Regions from separate parts of the Homo sapiens genome. Here region 1 is linked to region 2. The links are contacts of gene promoters, found by promoter capture Hi-C in blood cells and fetal thymus (Javierre and others, 2016). All regions are on one chromosome and are shown on one strand. The core of a region is centred on a gene start or on the middle of the fragment in contact, and the rest is flanking DNA. Distances in the headings are between cores, read along the strand shown.

What was found. Contacts are between HindIII fragments. The CHiCAGO score rates a contact against its expected background, and 5 or more counts as called.
Region 1: a contact is called between a fragment that was not itself captured here and the fragment with the promoter of RFX7 in region 2, in 1 of 17 cell types (total B cells). The highest score is 5.4, in total B cells.

The regions. Positions count from the first base shown.
Region 1 is chr15:57,707,778-57,713,758 of GRCh38, forward strand. GCOM1 (GCOM1, MYZAP-POLR2M combined locus) reads left to right here. Exons shown (of 17, transcript NR_104371.3): 15 at 937-1,581; 16 at 4,207-4,411. POLR2M (RNA polymerase II subunit M) reads left to right here. Exons shown (of 4, transcript NM_015532.5): 2 at 937-1,581; 3 at 4,207-4,411. Among named protein-coding and RNA genes, the nearest start is that of POLR2M, 4.1 kb to the left of the region's middle. The HindIII fragment of the contact is 4,237 bases long and covers 1-3,783 here.
Region 2 is chr15:56,241,525-56,247,663 of GRCh38, forward strand. It overlaps RFX7 (regulatory factor X7), which reads right to left and starts at 2,355. Exons shown (of 10, transcript NM_022841.7): 1 at 1,921-2,355; 2 at 1,601-1,763. The coding sequence starts at 1,761. It overlaps LOC124903569 (laforin-like), which reads right to left and starts at 3,294. Exons shown (of 3, transcript XM_047433428.1): 1 at 3,210-3,294; 2 at 2,459-2,655; 3 at 1,827-2,358. The coding sequence starts at 3,294. The coding sequence ends at 1,909. It also overlaps a transcript of TEX9 not described here. RefSeq lists silencers at 1,881-1,950, 2,041-2,100, 2,251-2,540, 3,031-3,080 and enhancers at 2,327-2,972, 2,973-3,618, 3,331-3,380, 3,619-4,264. The HindIII fragment of the contact is 5,292 bases long and covers 1-4,059 here.

The DNA.
Region 1 (5,981 bases), core at 415-2,914, 1.5 Mb after region 2:
CCAAACACTTAAAAGCTGGAGAAGTAGTCATGAGGCTCAAGAAAGAGAGAACCCTGGAAAAATACAGAAAACAGGAATTTCAGCTGTAGAGTGTTGTTAATAGTTGAAATTGTGGGGATGAATGTAGTGTCAAAAAGAACAGAGGACTTAAGGTGTAATTTTTTCTTTCCATTTATTGTATAGTTAAAGAAAAGGGAATCAGAAAAGGAACTCTGTCATCCAGCAAAAGGGACAAATAAATAATTGGTTGGGATCAAGACATGTGTTTTGACCTTGTGAGAATAGGTTTTGAATGTATAGCAGTGAATTAACTTTTTGGTCTCAGGACTCCGTTATACTTTAAGAATTATTGACATCCCAAAGAGCTATTTTATGTGTTGTATCTAGCGAAATGTATTTACTTATCAGAAATACGTCTGAAGTCTTTAAAACATAAGCATACACAAGCACACATTCTATTCTAGAACAATGATGTCATCACATGCCATGTAGCCTCTGGAAAACTCCACTGTACCCATGCGAGAAAATGAGAGGGAAATAATATCTTAGTATTATTATGAAAGTAGTTTTGACCTAATAGGCCCATCCCCACACTCCACCCCATCCCCAAATTTTGGAGATTGCACTTTAATGACTGCTGGTTCTTGGAATGTCTTATGTGATTATTATATGCTTAAAATACTTTTGCTGAAATTCTAATTTGCTGAGACAAATGAGGCATATATTCCCTATTCTTCCTGCATTCCCTTGTTTTTTGGGCTATTTGGATAATGACCATTTTAATTGTTTTATTCTTGTTTTGGGGCAGTTAGAAATCAGATATTTGACTTAAAAATCAGCTTTTCTTTCTTTGAAGATAATGCCTTGCCTTTTTAATGTTATATCTCAAGTTAAAAAAATGGCTGTAATGTAATAGTATTCTTTTCCATTTGACAGAAAATTCATTTGCAAATTGCCCGACAAAGGTAAAAAGATCTTTGACTCTTTTGCCAAACTGAAAGCTGCCATTGCAGAATGTGAAGAAGTTAGAAGAAAAAGTGAACTGTTTAACCCTGTTAGTTTAGACTGTAAGCTAAGGCAAAAAGCAATTGCAGAAGTTGATGTGGGTACAGATAAGGCCCAGAATTCTGACCCGATACTTGATACTTCATCACTAGTTCCTGGATGTTCCTCTGTAGATAACATCAAGTCATCTCAAACCTCACAAAACCAGGGACTTGGACGTCCTACTCTTGAAGGTGATGAAGAGACTTCAGAGGTTGAGTACACAGTGAATAAGGGCCCAGCTTCCAGCAATAGAGACAGGGTACCACCTTCATCTGAAGCTAGTGAGCATCACCCGCGGCATCGTGTTTCAAGTCAAGCGGAAGATACTTCCAGCAGCTTTGACAACCTGTTTATTGACAGGTTACAGAGGATCACCATTGCGGACCAAGGTGAACAACAGTCAGAAGAAAACGCAAGTACTAAGAACTTGACAGGCCTTTCCAGTGGGACTGAGAAGAAACCTCATTACATGGAAGTGCTAGAAATGCGAGCCAAAAACCCAGTGCCCCAGCTGCGTAAATTTAAAACCAATGTGTAAGTACCCTCGGAAACAGGCCTGTAACAGGAACGTGATATTTGTTAAACTCAAAAATTTACGAGAAACTGGGTGTGGTGGTGCTTGCCTGTAGTCCCAGGCTACTCAGGAGGCTGAGGTGGGAAGACAGCTTTGAGTCCAGGAGTTGTAGACCAGCTTGGGCAATATAATAAGACCTTTTCTCTTAAATAAGTCAGGAGAATGCTCTAAGTTCCGTGGGCTTTGTATGAGAACTACTTGTAGTTAGGAAATAACATGTTGTGGCAACACTGAGACCAGCCTGGCCGGAGTAGAAGATTCATGTTGAAAAATATTTAGTTTTGAAACCAAATAATCGACAAGGTCTTTTAAAGCACATGGGGGAGTGTTAAATTTTAGGATGCTTAGCCAGTATTTCATAATAAACACAGAGTTGGAGAGAATTTATTATGACTTCTTTTTTTCAGAACCATTTTTTAGTGTACAGCTTTGATTAGTGTACTATCAAAGTGTACTCTCTTTGATTAGTCTGTGAACTAAGGGTAAAGCAATTGCAGGAGCTGATGGGCTTTCCAGCAGAAATTATTTGCATGCTCACTGTATGTAAGCAAGCAGCAGGTGTTGTGGGGACACAATTAAGTCAAGATTCTTAAAACTCCTTTGCCTTTTTTGATGTTAAATCTCAAGTTTAAAAACATGGCTGTAATGTATACATGTGTAATGTAATACAATACCATGTTCTTCAAGGAGTTTAAGAGCTACATGAGGACCCAAGGTTTACACACTTGGAAAAGAGTTAAGCTACATAATAATAACAGTTTCAGGGGGAAGGAAGCTGAGAAGAGGTTTGAAAAACTGTGAAAATAGATTCAGGCAGGATAGGCAAAAACTCTGCTTATCAGTTCCTTGCCATAAATTTGTTTCTGAAATTTCAGGAAAAGTAAAATCTTTTTGAAAATAATTGCTATTTACTTGCAGCAAATGTAACATTCAACTCAGGTAACTGGTACCTTCTTCCTATATTGTATTTACAAGTATGTAACATCAAAGTTAAATCACTACTACCTTTCTTTGAAAAACAGAAAACCTCTAGTGAAAAGTATCTAAAACATGCTTCTTTTTTGTTAGACTTTAATTCTACCCCAGCATTCATTTTAACCTCAAAACATTTTATTTCTGCTGTATAGAAAATCAGGATTATACTACATTAACGTGATCAAGTACTCTCTTGTGTACAGTGGGGTATCTTTCTTCACTTCCAGGATGACATTTTAGAAAACTAGAACCATCATCTAGTCAATAAATAAAACAAAGAATACATTAATCCCAGTTCTGTATTATGGTCATTTAGCTGGGAGTGGGAGAGAGGTAAGGGAATAGTGAAGAGGGCTACCAAGAATTCAGGAAGTTTAAGAGACAGGGAGCCTCCTGTATAAGTTAGAGGAGAACAGGAAAGGCAGGGCTTTGAGGAGTCCTTAGGCCATAGACAGGTAGGGATTGAGAGGGTTCCGTGTGAGAGGTGGCTTGGAGGTTGGAAGGTGGGGTCAGGTAGTGTCCTTTGGGTCCTTTCTGCTCTTCCTTCTGCATACTCTTCTGGCTTCATGTATCACCTGGATGCTGGAGGCTGACCCCTGTGCACCTCTATCCCAGATCTTCCCAGAACTTTAGGTTTGCATAGCCAATTAACCATGAAACTTGATCACTTGGGTGTTCCCAGGTACCTCAGCTTAATGATGTACAAAGTGGAACTGCAGTTTCTTTCCAAGGTGATTTCCATATTCCCTAATAGTGCCACCACCTTCTCGGTTTTCTTCCCCTAAGGTATCTTCGATTTTTCTCATCTCCATATCTGCTAGCCATGAAGACCTACTTATTTCTTTGATCTTCATCTCTATAATTGTTCTTCATCTTCTGTCGAAGTGAAGACTCTCATCTCTCTCGGGCTGTAATTGTGGCCCCTTCTACCTCTAGTCTTAACTACCAGTCTATCTCCACTGCTGCCAGAGTGAAATTTGTAAGATGGAAATCCGAACTTGTTACGGAGAACTCTTCATTGCAGTCTGGGCCTAGGCTACTTCCCAGCCCTCTTTCTCGCTGTCTTTTCTGTGTAGCCAGAAAAGCTGAGTCTGTCTACCTTCTGTACTTTCTCTCACTCCCCTTGCTGGGATGCACTTCTCTCCTTATTTACATGGGTAAGCAGTTATTATTCCAAGACTGTTCAAAGCTTTTTTGAAACTTTTCTTAGCCTCCCTGTCTCCCACTAGAACTGGCCATTTCCTTATGTTCCAATGTATCTTGTTGAGATATCTATCACAGTATCTCTGGTATTGTATTGCACTGAAACTTTACATGTGTATTTCTTTCTACTGGGCAATAAGCCCTTTTGCAAATGTTCTTTGAATAAATGAAAAAAAAAAAAAAAACTCCAGATGAAATACAAGGTTTGAATAAGGAAGGAAAAGGCAAAGAGCCTGTATGCACACAAACACACCCCTATTTGTTAGAGCAATGAATACTGGTAAATTACTTACTGTTACCTTTGGAGGAGAATTAATTGCTAAGGTAAAGGCCATTTGTGTGAATGTTTTAAATGTGTCTACAAATAAAATAATCTGATTGTATAACACAAGTTTTCCTTTCATCAGGTTACCTTTTCGACAAAATGATTCATCTAGTCATTGCCAGAAGAGTGGGTCTCCTATTTCCTCAGAAGAGCGGCGGCGCAGGGATAAGCAGCATCTTGATGACATCACAGCAGCTCGGCTTCTACCACTTCACCATATGCCCACGCAGCTGCTCTCCATAGAAGAATCCTTGGCACTTCAGAAACAGCAGAAACAGAATTATGAGGTATTTAGAGTATTTTTTTTCTTGTCTGTTTGTTGGGTGCTGCTTACATAAGCTAGAATTTACTCCAGGTTCAAGGAGGAAGGAATGGAATAGAGGGGATTAGGTGCTTCCATGAGCTCAGATCTATGCCACTAGTTTTCAGAGAGTCACAAAGTTGCTAGAACTGCAGGAAGTAGCTAGAGATGATCACAGCTACCTTCAACATTAAAGTGGTGATTTGCCTGGAGATGTGGGGAGACTTGTAGAATTTCATGTCTTAAAGCTCATTTACCTGCCTGTTCCTGTTAGGATAGTAGTAGCATCGCATCTCTCCCTTTCACCTTGTAAAACTCATGTGACAGCTTCTCAGTGGCGGACTCAAACCCAGACCCCTTGTTAGAGAATGAGGAGAATGTAGTTCCCAGGCTTCCATCTTCTGCAGTACAGGGGAGGGCATAGAAGGAGTGGGAGGATAATGTTGTGTAGCCAGCAGACAGTGAGACACTGCTTTAGAGCATAATCTGCAGGCCCATGTGAAGAGAGAAATATCTCCTGCTTTTGGCAGCTTAATCAATTTTGCATAGCACTTTGTTTCCATGTGTTTTGCATTGAACTTCAAACATGTATGTTGAGAGTTTGTATACAGAATAATGGGATGGGAGAAAATAAGTGTGAAGGACCATAGGGGAACAGAAAAGTTTAGAAGTATTTAGTAATAATTTTAGCCTCCAGGAGAACAGTATCCTGTCTCACTTCCTAGGTATTGATTAGCTAGATTTTAGTCAGGTACTAGTGCACCAACTAGTATAACACCAGACTGTTCAGGAGTTCGAGACCAGCGTGGGCAACATAGCTAGACTCCATCTTTACCAAAAAATTAGCCGGGCATTGGGGCATGCAACTGTGGTTCCAGCTACCTGTGGGGCTGAGGTAGGAGGATTGCTTGAGCTCAGGAGGTCGAGGCTGCAGTGAGCCGCAGTCACACCACTGCACTCTGTATAGCCTGGGTGACAGAGTGAGACCCTGTCTCAAAAAAAAAAACAACAAAACAGGCTGTTAATCTGCTTTGGCTTTTCATAAAAGCCTTGGCATGGATTGGCATTATCAAGGTGCTCTTTTTGAAAAAAACCATTTTTCTTTCAGTGCATTAAAATGACTGTCTAGTTATGGCTGTAGCATTGAGGAAGTGTTTACTGTCTCTGAGCTCTTAAATGCCTGTCCTAAGATATTTTTAGGTTGAATTAAACCCTTCATCTTTAAATTGTTTTTTTTTAGCAGAGAAGTTGTAGTGGTAATAGCTCCCACTTTTACTGACCCATATTCATGGCTTGAAGAGGAGGACATCAAGAAGTTCAAGAAAGCATGAGAAAAGGGAAGAACTGAATTAGGAATGACATTGCCACCTACCATCAGTTGGTGGTAAAGTCCTTGGGAGTTTTTAAGTACATTGCCAGTGTCTGAAATTTACTTGGACTTTTTATTGGATACTAGTTGCTGTAGGACTTTATTTGGAGAGGAATAGTCAGCTTTTTAGTATTAATTTCTTGATTTTCATTTTGCCATTGAAATGTAATTCCCAAGTCTGGAAGTC
Region 2 (6,139 bases), core at 1,105-3,604:
GTGCTTAATTCAATTTAATGATGATTTCAGAAACACAAAGTTACGTCACGTTACTAGAGGTTAAAAACACACACACATACACACTGGTTTTGTGAAAACCTTGATGGCAAGCAAGATATTCACCATCTCTTCTTTTAAATTATAGCTTTAAAAAGGGGGTGAGGGTATCCATTGAAGAATAAAGCCTGCTTTCTGTCACACACACACACACACACCCCAATCATATCTATCAGACCTATTCAAGTTGCCACAACATGACTATTGTCAAAGCCAAAAAAATTCTCCTTTAAAATATTTAAACTTCATTTTAAAATTAAAACTGAAAGCAAGATACTCAACTGCCAACTACTGTTGATGAAACTATTAAAGCCTGCACTGACCTACTTCATATCAGCATCATGACGGCATGGATGCATGCCAAGAAAATAATGAAAATTACTATATAACTAACCTAAATCTTGTATTTAAAAATTGTCACTTTAAAAATGTGCAAATACTGTTCATGCAACGCCAGTTGCTTTACGATATGTTTTCAAAATGAGAAAATGAGTTTTGATATTTTAGTACTCATATTCAATGATGGCCCTGCAAAGATTTCATTTCCATTTTCAAAATCAAGGCTTTTTAAAATACCATATAAAATTCTTTTTAAACTTCTATTAAAAGCAATCTTAGACCAAATTCCAAATATTACTTTCCATTTAAAAAATATTGCTACACTTAAAAAAGGCAGTTAATGAAGCATCCTACAAAACAATGCAAGTTCATGTTCAAAGAATATTGCAATGGCTCTAACAGTGGATGGACTTAGTGTATTTAATTATTAAAAGATTCCCACTAGACTTTAGGAGTTTAATGCTGAAATATTGGAAATTTTCATACAAGAAAGTAAAATAGCGAAAGATATTCCATCAATGGTTTCTTTTAAAAAGACATACAAATGGCAAGACATTTGATTCCCTATATTTTAATTTAAAAAAAAACCACTTTGTTGTAAACTACCATCTTAAAATATTTTATACTAAAAAAGCACTTTCTTCACAATCAATGCAAAGAATAAACTCCCTGAAAAAGAAATTTAATATTAGGATAAGGGAGGCAAAAACATTCAGAAATAGCAGCTAACCCAACTGAAAGGAAGAGACACATTAGGTTTTGTGCTGCATATTAATATTCTTACGCACAGTATCTGTTTGGTGAAAATTCACAATACACTTCTTCCTCCTTCTATGGCTGCAAAAAGGAGTAAACACATTTCACATTCTCCAGTTCCAAATTCATGCCACCATCATGCAATATGACTTAATTTCGACCCATATTTCTGTTACAATGAGTGAAAAAATAAAACCAAAAAACTTGTTTATCTGCACTCACAATTGAGGAAGGGGTAAAAGCATTTTTTAGCTAAGAAGACAGGGGCTGATTGATGCAAAGTCCGCACACCTCCAGAGATCCTACAAATGTGCACCCGACTGGGGAAAGCCACATTCAATGAATGCATCAGCCTCCTCCTCCGCTCCCCCCGCCCGCCGCCCCCCACCCACTTTGCAGCAGAAATGTGCCTGGGCTTTTTCACGCGAGCGATGGAGGATCCTCTTACCAGATGGAGTTCTTGATCTTGTGTTGCAGCGCGCTGGCCTCTGTCCCTGGCAGCCCGGGCACAAGGGCTGGCAGGGCCACCCCCGAGTTGGGGGCGCTGGGGGGAAGCTGCTGATGGGCATCAGGCTGCTGTGGTGGCGGCTGTTGTTGTTCCTCTGCCATCGCTGCAGAGGGGTGGGAGGGAGGGAGGGAAAGATGGGGGCGCGGGGAAGGGTGAGGGAAGAGACCGGGAGGGGAGGACGAAGGGGGGAGAGGAGGAGGGGGAGGGGGAGGGGAAGAGGAGGAGGAGGAGGAAGGAAGCTGGATAAGCTAGGCCTTTACCCCAGGGCTCGAGTGAGTCGCTTTCGCCTGCCGCCTGGGGAACATCACCGGGGAGACCAGCGGCTCCTCACGGCCGGGGCGCTTCACCGCGGGAGAGGCATGGCGGCGCCCCTCAGCCCCCCGCTGGCGCCGCCGCCTCCTCCCGTCAGCGGCCGGGGCTGTGGGGGGGTGAGATGGGGGCGTTTGAAGACGAAGTGGGGGGGGCAGGCTCCCCCCAAAATCCAAGAAGAACGGTTGCTCAGGGATTTGGCGGCCAAGCCTTCCTTCCTTGTCCCCGGGGCTTTCTACTGCCGGGTCCCCGTGCTGCTGCAGCCCCAGGCACCGCTCCACGCCACTCCCCACGCCGCCGCCGCCGCCGCCGCTCGCTCCCGGCCCCGCCGCCGCCGCGGCCGCCGCTGCCCTGCCAGCCCCGGAGGCAGCCCAGTGCGCGCAGCCGCACTGCGGCCCGGCGCAGACCGCACAACACCTACCGCTCCGCCGGGGGGCGTGGACCAGGGTGTGCGGGCCGCGGGCGCGACGGGCCGGGATGGGGGCGCACGGCGCGGAGGGCGGCGCGGGCCAGCGGGCCAGGGAAGCGCGCCGCTGGGGGCCGGGAGGAGTCCGGCCCGGCTGGTGGAGAGCAGGAAAACGTGGGGGAGGTGCTGGCGAGAGAAAGAGAACTTGCGTGAGGAGGAGGAGGAGAAACCAAATTTAATAATATTTGGCGTGGAAATGGGATTTGGGCGGGGGAGGCATCTTCAAAGCAAGTAAAGAGAAATCAACATTATCCCCCTTCCCCTGCACATGCATGTGAGGATTACTTCCTCCCTGAGTAAATGAAGAGAACTGAAGCAGGTAAGACGATAAACTGACTTTTCAGAAGCCCCCAAAGAAGAACACCCGTTGGAATTAACCACCCTTTAGGTAATTCGGTCTTGAACGGAAATCGCGAGTCAGGAGCTGGGTTGAGTGCTCCTCGGTCGGGCATTCAAAGCCCTCCAAATCTGGCCCCACTTTAACTATCCAATCATAGCGGCCTCCATCCCCCTGCAAGAACTCCCGGCTCCAATCAGGGAAGTCTCCATGCCATCCTCAACGCGCAGCAGATTCATTCTTCCTTCGTGCCTTTGCTCATGCTGTTCCCCTCCACCTCCCCACCCCACCCCACCCCCTTTCCAGGAATGCCCTCCCTCCTTTATACCGCTCCCAATTCCACCCAGGCTCTAAAGCATAGCTCAAGTCGCGGCTTGTCAGGGTCCCTGCAGCCAAGGCCACTGCCTGCCTCTGAAAGAAACGCATGTAGTACTCACAACATGGAGGCTCAGGCGTCAGCCACGAGCTCCTTCCTTTGGAGCCCGTTGAACACCCGCCCTCCCCCCGCAGACTCCGCACCATTCCCCCCCTTCCCATTCATACCTAAATGATAGCTTTGCCACAAATAAGTCAGTCTCCTTTAAGAGCAGAAGAATTGGCTTTTCTAGGTGGGGCTGATCAGGGAGGCTGCGTGGATGTAGAATACAACAGCCAAGGCCTCTGGCACCAAATGGAACAGCTGTTCAGCTCACACTGACCTTTCTTTGGGCCCGTGGGTGTTATGAGCCCTTCAGCTTTAACTTTTCTGATAGAGTGTCTATCAGGTTTCTACCTGTTAGATCCTCTGGCCACTTTCCTGCTGTGTGTGGACTTTGGGCTGTGGGGCTCTGCCACCTTTTAGACTCCTAGTGGATGGTGAATCTGATTGGCTTGGGTTGCCTGGCCTTTGAGTTCTCAGTTCCCTGCCTTGGCCTGAAACCCTCTTGCTTTTGTCCACTGTGCCCTCTCTCCTGGCCCACAGACTTAAGGCCCAGACTCACACTGAATGCTTGCACGTGGTGAGGGTTGAGGGTGGGGGTGCAGGGAGGAAGAACACCTGTGTGCAAAATAAGCCGCCCCCCCGCCCCCGGGGCCTCTTGGATTACGCTGTGCTCCAACTACCCATTGCACGAGTTGCATCACACAAATGAGCCCCCTTTTCCATACTCTAAGGTCTCTATTAGCTTAGCCACTTTAGGAAACTATAGGTGGTTTACGACATTCATTTTGCATACATATCTTCATGTGGGTGTGTAAAGACAGTATTTTTGTGGACCTAATTGATAGACATGGTGTGCACTAGACAGAAGCTTTGAAGGATAAAAATAGCTAATGTTTGTTGAACACTTTGTGTGCCAGACTAGCACTTTCCATACATTATCATAGTTATTCCTCCCCAAGAGTGTATAATGTAGGTATTATTAGTCTCCCTCTGTTACAGATGAAATGGAAGCTTAGGTTAATTAACATTCTTAAAATTACCCAATTAGTAAATGCAGGAGCCAAAATTTGAGTCCTGGAAGTTTAATTCCAGAGCCTGCAAGCTATGCTGAAACTGGAATTACGCTGAAAAATCTTGAATGTAGGTATATATATACGTGTGTGTGTGTATGCCCTATATCACGTTGAGGAAAGTTGCCAAGTTCCCCAAGGTTCTAATTTTTTGCCTTGCCAAGAGAGAATGATGGCTCCAAGTTGCAACACCCTGGGAGGGGGAGATCCTTAGGAAGTGGGAGAGTCATCGAGGGGGTAACGTATCTAAGGTCTGCCAAAGGCCTTAAGAAAAGGAAGCCGAGAACCAAGACGTTTTATAAAAAGTTCGCTACCGGGTGTCACACAGGCTGGCTTCCCAAGTGCAACTTCTGAGAGTTTTTAATGGGTTCCATAAAAGAGCCAGGTCACCCCAGCAGCCACTAGAGGGCTCACGAAGCTGCAGCCGCGGGCTGCCCTCTAGCGGCGGTGCTGACCGGAGTGTGGTGGTAAACCTTTTCCGGCCTTCCAGGACCTACAGGGAGTTGAAGGAGACCAGCAATGGGAGGGGTGGCAGAGAGTATCAGACTGAGGAGACCTTATTGCCAGAGTGAGATACCCTTTCAGGGAGGAAAGGGGCAGCCCTCACTACTCACTTAACATCTGGGAGTACAGTGGGTGTTTTGTTCCAGTCTTCAGAGAAGACTGTGAATAAAATCATGACATTAAGAAATCTGATGAAGTTACCCAAAATTTTGAGTGTGGACTCAAGCCAAACCCAGGGACCCTGAATAAAGGCAGGAGTGTAGCCATGTGCTTCTCATATTATGTGGGTTCCTTTGATTGTGCAACCCTGTACTGAGGACCCTCAAGGACCCAGAATCAATGTGGCTCATTTTCTCTGAGCATCATTTTGACTCTCTGGTAAATAAGGTAAGACATTGTAGTAAGCATGACTTTTTAAGATAACACACAAGTATTACCCAACCCTGAGGAGCCTAAGTTTATTCTCTACTGGGAAAGTGTACACCAGAGGAAAATTTTGAGGAACACTGATGTAGTGGGTTAGAAAAACCTGGCCTTGGAGTCAGAAGACCTGGGAATTCAAACCCTCTGTTTCGATCTCTATAAAAATGAAAATAATGATGTACATCAGAGGGTTGCTATAAGGAAAACATGAAAAGTTATAGGTAAACCAGGGAAGTGTTGTCCACATTTAGAGAGTATCTACAAGATGGATTGTCAGCACCTCAAAGGAAATGACTATTTTATTTATCCTAGTAGTCCCAGGACATAATTCCTGACTCCTGACTATTTAATAAATATTTGTGGAATTTAGTAGTTAACTAACCCTCATTTTCCTAGCCCAATCCATTATATTGTCTTGCTCTCTTGTGTCTGTAAACCTTGTCTCCTTTATGAAACTGTAAACATTTTATACTGTCCAGACTGTAGTATATACATTTATCATGCCTGATATATAGCAGTATTGGGCACGGAAAATATGAATAAATAAGACCTGGCCCCAACTTGAAGTAGTTTACATTTTTGTGAAGTAGAGCAACATATTAACATATATAAGATGATGAGTTATAAACATATCCACTAGTGTTGTGGAGTCATAATGGAGGGAGGGATTGGTCTTGCTCAGGGTAGAAGAACTGGAGAAGGCATCATGGCTGGCATTTTAATTGGGTCTTGTTGGATGAATAGGAGTTGAGTAGGCAGAGCAACAGAGGGAAGATGATTTCAGATAAAGGGAGTAACATGAGCACTGGTGTGAAGCCATGAAAGGGTACTGTTTGCTGAAGGAATAATGCATAGCACGGTGTTGACTCTGTGATCAGATCCTAAAGTAGTATAGGCGAGGGAAAAGAAGGAGAGAGAGACAAAAACCCACTTTACAAAATGTTACTTT